2 separate regions of the Homo sapiens genome follow, and region 2 is linked to region 1. Evidence: promoter capture Hi-C in human tissues and cell types (Jung and others, 2019). All regions are on one chromosome and are shown on one strand. Each heading gives the region's core, a stretch centred on a gene start or on the middle of the fragment in contact. The rest is flanking DNA. Distances are from core to core; before and after follow the strand shown.

What was found. The method cuts DNA at HindIII sites, captures the fragments that hold promoters and counts their contacts. A contact is called where the count stands out against the background at its distance.
Region 2: a contact is called between a fragment that was not itself captured here and the fragment with the promoter of DNASE1L3 in region 1, in 2 of the 25 tissues and cell types used here (H1 embryonic stem cells and liver).

The regions. Positions count from the first base shown.
Region 1 is chr3:58,208,633-58,212,815 of GRCh38, reverse strand. DNASE1L3 (deoxyribonuclease 1L3) reads left to right here and starts at 1,844. Exons shown (of 8, transcript NM_004944.4): 1 at 1,844-2,050. The coding sequence starts at 1,910. The HindIII fragment of the contact is 9,412 bases long and covers 1-2,795 here.
Region 2 is chr3:58,492,985-58,497,167 of GRCh38, reverse strand. All of the region lies in intron 1 of KCTD6 (potassium channel tetramerization domain containing 6), which reads right to left. Among named protein-coding and RNA genes, the nearest start is that of KCTD6, 3.0 kb to the right of the region's middle. The HindIII fragment of the contact is 5,212 bases long and covers 1-4,183 here.

The DNA of each region.
Region 1 (4,183 bases), core at 595-3,094:
TCAATTGTCTGAACTAACAAAAAAGCTACTTTTAAAAAATACTAAATCATTTGAATTCTAATAAAGTAAACAAACAAAACATTGATGATAACCTAAAGTGTTTATAAATGTTCCAGAACTGTATTCAGACAAAGGTTTCAACGTAAAGTCATGAACCTGAATCAAACCCTACCAAGTGCACATTTTATAAGAGAGTTACAAGATTTTCTATATAGTTGGCCCAGCAGCTCTCATTAAGTCCATGAAATACCGCATATTCCATCTTAAAACACACAAAAAGAGTATACCATGGCTCTGAGTCTCTTAAACATTTCTACACTTTAATTCTAAATCTTTTTTCTGGTTGGAAGATGCCCATTCACCAAGAAAGACAATTAACCATTCCCTAGAGCTCCTTTTTTTTTGTTTTTGTATTTTATTGAGATGGAATCTCACTCTGTTGCCCAGGCTGGAGTGCAGTGGTGCAATCTTGGCTCACTGCAGCCTCTGCCTCCCAAGTTCAAGCCATTCTCCTGCCTCAGCCTCCCAAGTAGCTGGGATTATAGGCGCCCACCACCACGCCTGGCTAATTTTTGTATTTTTAGTAGAGACAGGGTTTCACCATGTTGGCCAGGCTGGCCTTGAACTCCTGACCTCAAGTGATCCACCCACCTCAGCCTCCCAAAGTGCTGGGGCTACAGGAGTGAGCCACTGCGCCCGGCCCAGAGCCACCTTTACCAGAGATTCAACCAGGCCTGAGGTCTTAGGTTGCAGACAACAGGGAGATTCATTGCAGCACGAACTCAGGAAACCATTTCCTTCCATGTACTATTTGGGGTTATCTTATAGAATTCCTGGCATGCTTGGCCAGTATGCTGCCTGGATGTATGTTGGGGATATATGTATAATTTTCCCTGTGGCTGTGGCCACAGACCCATCACCACAAGAGGGGTTGGTCCACAGATCCCGATGCTGGCTTGGAGTTATTCTTATTCCCTACCCTTTTCACAGAATTGTCTTTGCCAAAGTCCATTAATATACCTTGATTGGATTTTGCTTTTTTTTTTAATTTTTTTTTGCTTTACAGATCTTCATAGTTTCCTGCCCATATCTCTAAAAGTCATTTTGCTTGAGTTGATATCCTACAGTTCTTACAAGACCTTTCTCTCCCAGGGTCACACAACTCTCGCCAATATTAAATTAATATCAGCTTCAATCACGGGTCTCTCCATGGGTTTCACGGGCTATTTGCTCGCAGAGTCCAGGGACATTTTCCTCATCCATTCCATCAGATCCCCAATTGCTTTCTCTGGCAACACACTCCTAGTATTTGTACGGTAAAGCTGCCTAAAAAAATTAAGTAATTCAAACTACTCTTGACCTTACTTTACACCACCAGGGCAATTAGAGTCACAGTCTGGGTGTGTCTGAGGACAGCAGGCCGCCAAATCCCAGTGATTTAGAGAAAACCGAGCAGAATTTCCCATGCCTCCTGCCTCATTGTCCCCCAGCAGAAGGTTCCGTCACCCCAGGTGCCCTCTAGGGTGGACCACTTCCGAGTTCATCCACTGTCAGGAAAAGGCACATGGCATGCAACCGCAAGACCGATGACTAGATGTCAGAGCTGGCTCCCGGTTGGGATATGAGTGACTTTGTGGAGGATGGCGCCTAAATGAGGCATGCCAATTTCTGCACCAGGGTGACGAACATAAGGGCTCCTTAAAGGCTAGCCCAATGTATCTGTATTTCCTTGGGGATTAAAACCCATGATCTTCAGTTCCTCAGAGAACTGAAAGTTGCAAGGAGAAATCCAGTAATTCCTGTTATCTGCAGGCTTTATAAGTCAGTGGAGCCTGCGGAAGTGGCCAGAATCCAGCACTCCAAGCACTGCTGTCTTCTCACAGAGTCTTGAAGCCAGAGCAGCGCCAGGATGTCACGGGAGCTGGCCCCACTGCTGCTTCTCCTCCTCTCCATCCACAGCGCCCTGGCCATGAGGATCTGCTCCTTCAACGTCAGGTCCTTTGGGGAAAGCAAGCAGGAAGACAAGAATGCCATGGATGTCATTGTGAAGGTGAGCCCCTTTCCTGGGAGGAGGATCCCAGACACCCCTCACACCCTCTCTCCTGTCTGCAGACTTTAAGAGACTCAAGGAACTTAAAGTTGGCCCTTAGGGGGAATGTAGAAGCTGGCTTGGAACAATAACCACTTCAACTCTCTGTACCTCCTGCCGTCATCTTAAAACAGGGGTGATAACAATGGTTCCCTCCAGGGTTGCTGGGGGGACTACAGGAGTTGGCAAATGGAAAGCTCTTAATGTAGTATCTGGCTCATTATACGTTCCAGATAAGGGTTAGCCATTATGATTTTTATTGCTATTTATTGAATGCCTGTATCAGGCACTATAAGCACATGGTTTCACTTCATAATCTTTATGAAGAGGGACTATTACTCCCCATGTAGAGGTGATGAACAAAGAAAGATGAAGTAACCTTATACAGCTACTCCTTTTCACCAGCAAAGCCCAGCTCCTTTCTCTCTCTTTCCTTTTCTTCTTTCTTTCTTTTCTTTCTTTCTCTCTTTCTTTCTTTCTTTTTCTTTCTTCCTTTTTCTTTCTTCCTTTTTCTTTCTTCTTTCTGTCTTTTCTTTCTTCTTCCTTTCTCTTTTTCTTTGTTTCTTTCTTCCTTTCCCTTCCTTACTTTTTTCCTTCCTTCCTTCTCTCTCCCATCCTCATCATCCCTCCCTCTCTTTGTCTTTCTTTCTTCTTCTCCTCCTTCCTTCCTCTCTCCCTCTCCTCTACTTCCCCACTCCTTCCACTTTCGCTTACGCTTTCCTTGGGTGATATACCCAATGTCCGGGGACACTGCTTGCTTTCTCTGGAGTCAATTGACTCCCTTTATCCTACAGGTTAATTAATTTTTGATGCTGGCAACTTAACCCTTTCCCAGGACTCTGGAAAGGTACTTATTACCTTAGGAAACCTGAGACACCATGGTGTGGTAGGGGGGCCAGGAGCCCTGGGTCCAGATTCCACCTACCAGACTTGTGAGCTTGGGAGGCCCTGCCCCTCCCTGAACCACCAGCTCCCCTAGTAAAATGGCGACCACATCCAAATACCACCTGTAGCACTGGCTGGTGAAGAGAACTCAGGGTGCCTGAGGCACCCAGCAGAGCCTGCAGCAAGGTGGGTATTCATGAGCCAGAGCCGCTGCTGTTGCTGTCACTGGGAAGGAGGATTGGAGTGAGGACTGGCAGGCTCTGTTCTTCCTTGGACGAGCCTCTCAGACCCAGGTGGCCCTGCCCTTTGGGAGGTAACCAAGGCCTTCTAGATGGTGTTGTTTAGCCAGGATAGCAATGCCAAGCCTGTGGGAGCCATGACAAGATTGTTCAATGGGAAACCCTGACATGCAAGGCAATGATTTTCCCCACTTCACACATGGCCCGTGGAGCCTGGGTAGCCACTGAGTTCCCATCTCCTTCCTCACTGATGAAACCCGGCTGTCTTTTTGTTCCTTGGTGAGTCCATCATGGGGGCTTGAACTCTGCATCTCCCCTGAGCAGCTGTGTCCTGCAGAGCATGTCCGAAGTCCTTGTCAAGGCTGCCTCACCCTCCCCATCCTACCAAGAGGCCATCCCCAAAACACTGCAAGAGCTACCCTACAGGGCACTCACAGTCACCCGAGAATGCCAGGCATTCAGAATAGGATTATCCCTAGCGCCCATTGACCAAGCACCTCCTATAGGTGCTAATTTTTGTATTTTTAGTAGAGGCGGGTTTCACCATGTTGGCCAGGCTGGTCTCGAACTCCTGACCTCAGGTGATCTGCCCATCTTGGCCTCCCAAAGTGCTGGTATTACAGGCGTAAGCCACCGTGCCCGGCTGGGACTGTATTTTAACAGTTCAACATGGTGGGCTTTGTAGTCACGCAGACCTAAGTTCAAATCCTGACTCTACCACCTATCCTGGCTGTATGACTTTAAGCTAGTCACTCAACCACTCTGAGCTTGGTTTCTGCCTATGTTTAATGGGCTAATAAGCATAGTTACCCCACAGGGTTGTTGTAAGGCTCGGAGTAGGTTTGCAGTAAATGTCAGCTTTTATAATTATTATCATTATAATTATACCTCTTTATTTCTAATCCAGTCTGTTATCTTTGCTTACTAAGGGCTTAATAAATATTTATTATTATTATTGTAATTATTCAAG
Region 2 (4,183 bases), core at 446-2,945, 280 kb before region 1:
TTTTTATTCTTTACACTCAGCAGTTGGATATAGACAGGCCTCCACATGCTATGGGGTGAGAAATGGAACAAATGTCAAATTCAAGACTGTTATGACAGTCTTTCATTCCTCTGACTTGCTTCACAAATAGTATCCGAAGTAAACAGGACCAAGAAATGGGCTTTGCCAATTTGTCTTGCCAGGATCTGATTCAGTTACTGATAACAACAGATTAGTAACTGAGCAATTTAAAAGGCCACTCATCCAAAAGTTCTGGTAAGATGCTCATCTTTGGCATTTTCCCATCACCCAAAGTATTCATTCTGACAGCCTCAATAATCATTCATTCAGCCAACAATTATTGTGGGTCACCTATGGAGTGGAGGGGGTGCCTATGTGCAATGCGGACACACAGAAAGAGGAAAAAGACAATCTTTGCCCTCATGGAGCTTTCCATCTATAATGGAAGGCAACATGCAATGACTGAAGTACAGAACAGAATTCAAAGTGCTGTATAACAGATGGACCAGCAGAGGCCCGTGAGAGGGGAAAAGCAAGATTTCAAATGGGAAATAGAGGACTTCTGGGAAGAGCCCATTCAGTTGAATCCTTGAAAGAAAATTCGGACAACCTGAGAAGGGATTCTAGAAGGAAGAAACAATTTAATAGACAGGGGCATGAAAGACTTTTTTTCCCCCTACAACATTCCTGATACCAGTAGGCCGAGCAGGGATTACTATCCTCATCTTAAAGATGCAAAACAGAGAAACAAGGCAGATTAAGTGACTAGCTGAGGGCGCCACAGCTGGGAAGTAACTAGATAAGAACTTGCATGTTCTGACTCTTAGTCTAGATTTTTCCATAAATCCCCTCCTAGGGTAGAAATTGAAAGAACAGAATCCAAGAGACAAGAAATTGAAAAAGCTTAACTTTAAACTCTCTATAGCCATCTATTAACCCTATCCATCCAGTAGGGTTTTATTTACAAATTTTACAGTAACTCAGCCTAACTAAACAGTCATAATGGGTTTGTAAAAATTCTCCTGAGGCCCCCCCACCAAAAAAAGGCAGGAACCCATTCAACTAGTGTGAATAACGGTTGCTGTCCTGTCTGTAGTGACATAAAGAACTCCAATCCGTGAATATCCAAATGATTAAATGAGAAACAGAAGATCAAAGACAAGGAAAAAAGCAGACATCAATGTTGCAGCCGTTAACGAAAAGTCTGTCCACTATTAACCCTTTTTTTCTTTTTTACTGCTAAATCAAAACAAGGTAACTTCTTGAGCAGTTATCTAAAAAAAAAAAAAAAAAAATTAGACGATGTCCCTGAATCTGTTCCACAGCAAAAGCAAAAGTTCCGGTACAAAGATGTAATGAAAGCTCACGCTTAATAATTCAGGAAAGCAATTATGGGAATCTACAGCCCATGTTTCTTAAAAACCACCCAAAAGCCTTCCTATACTTGTGTATAAGATACATCAAAATAAATTGAAGCAAAGTTACTATTAGTCACTTCCAATAACAATGAGTAAACTGTCTAAAGAAATCAAATTGTGCATTAAAGAGTTCAAAGGGAAAAAACAGTATTGATTAGTTTAAATTTTATCTCTACCTGCTTCTAAATATCTTCTGTGGAGATGCTTAAATACAGCAAGAAACAAACAAACAAAAAAAAAGCATGAAAAATTCCCTGTTATCCAATAGCTGGATAATGATCGGCTTCTGAATTCTGAATTGACGACCATTAGGAACATCTCTGAAACGATGCAGATGAATGAAATACAATCCCAAAGAATTTCCAGAATAGTTTCAATCTCTTCTACTGAATCATTTTCCAGAGCTACTAACAATTAGAAAATGATTCATTTGCTTTTCATCTTCTCTCCCTTCTGGCACAGTCTCCAGTGGAGGGCTTAATGAGAAGTTAAATGACCACAAGACAGGCAGCAGAAGGAAGATCTTGAAATGGGTATCAAATAGGCCTATTTTACTTGATGAAAGCAAAGAAATATCTAATATTTCAGAAAATCTACCAGGAATGGTAACAATAAAAAATTTTTCCTTTATAGTGACTTTCCTTACTAAAACTAAAGATGGTTTTGAAAGACAGCAAATGCAACCGAGCACAAACAGCTATAAAATTCAAAGAAGCCTCTGACCCTGAAAAATCAGTTCACCTGAAAAGATGTAACCTTTGATGCAAATAAAATTCTTGTGAAAACAACACTGCCCACTCCCCAAAGAATATAAAGCAGTGCTGAAAATTCAACCATGTTTAAGCTTCAAAGGTTATTGTGACTAATGTATAAATTCTGACAGTGTCATGTTAGCAGGTAATTAAGCTTAAGAAAACACATACTGAAGAATTTATAGAAACCTTAAAAGGAAGTATTAATTTTCTAAAGTAGCATATCTGAAGAAATGCATACATAATTCAGTAAGTTAATAACTTAAAAAAATAACCTAAGAACCCTTAAATGCCATTCTCCCTATCACTGCAGAATTGCAATTACAGGCCTAATGGTTATGATGAACTAACTTAACAAAAATATTCTGGGTTTATCATTCCTGCTATAGATTAAGAATTCTCCGGGGCAAAAGTCCTAATCCTATATAACTACCTATATGTTGCAATAAAAACCTCCAACGAATAATAAAAAACTCCAACTACTGACTTCCCAGAGTTTCCAGGCAGCCCTTTAAAAATGCTTTTTTACTGAAACCTTCGTGTCTGGTAGTCAGAAAAGACTCAATAAACTCCCTCTTTCTATACTTACCTTCAAAATTGCCTTGTATTGAGTTTTGCTCTTCTTGAAATGTGGGAGTTTGAAAGCGAAATACTTTTTATAGTAACTAGTTCAGCGACATCTAAAGGAGTCTTTGGGGTTAACATTCACATACAGGCCAGCATAAGTAGCCAGGCATACAAGGATAATGTGATTATGGTTAGATTATCCTTAACCATACCACTGCAGAAATGGATTTTTCTCTACAAGTAATCATTTTCTCTTTCTCCTTTCTCAACCATGTGGTCTAGAAGAGAGAAGCTATAGGTTTAAAAGTGACCTAATATTAAAAAGCTGTCACAAATAGTCACAAAATCATAACATTCCTCTTAACCCTCAGTTTCCGCAAGATAAAACGGGATAATACCACCTTCCCAAAACGGGGTAATTACACCATTTAGGCACAACACAAAGGCAAAAATTGGCCTATAAGAGTAACACATCAGGACAAGGAAAGAGAACAGGTTCCCAGGGAGGTCCTGTAGTTGAATTCTGCTCCGTTACTGATTATGAGACCCTGAGAAAATCACTCTTTATGCCCAGCTTCTTCTTTGGGGAAATGGAGAAAATAAGGGAGATCATGAATATAAAACCATCTGTAAACTAGCAAGTATTAGACAAATGTGAAAACATTAGTGGCAGCAGCATAAACAAAATTTCTAGGTTAACATGAGAAACTTGAGTGTGAACACAAGTAATTTAGAGCATTGGCCTGGAGACGGCAAATATGGAGGAGGCAGCCTCTTAATTTGCTTCAAATCTCCCCAGGTCCTCCTTTTCCCAGAGCTCCAGAAGGGAGAACTATATACAGGTAAAGGGGAGTGTCTAGTTTTCCCAGAGTTCACCAAACACCTGAGCTCCTGATCTCAGAAGGAACTTCTTTAAAGCATGACTCGGGATTATCTCCAAGTTAAAGCTGAATCCAAATACATACAGGTACTCCATTTTAAATGGACCCCAAATATCAAAATCCAAGCGCACTGAAGGATTCATAGGGTTCACCCTAAGATTCCTTTAAGTAGTAATGCTTTGGTTAAAATATGATTTATGAAAATTCAAATCACAAAACTTTGGAATGGCATCCATGGCTATCCTGACCACTCCATCGTTCATATCTAAGGCATAGCACAAAATCAAGTATCAGTATGGACTGATGGTTTCGGCCAAAGAGAAAATACTCTCAACCTACCAACCCTGCTGACAAACACATTTTCCTTTTCCTAGCTACATATTCGTTCATTTGAAAACATCTCAATCTTGGGCTCAGGACTGTGCTACATGCTGTCCCCAAGCTTCTCTCCTATCCCAGGATGATTCAAGTAATAGGGCATTTGTGACAGCGAAAAAAAGAACATGCCAGGGGGATATAGAAGAGATACTTAGGCTACCCCAAATATTCTTAGCCGAGCCGGGTC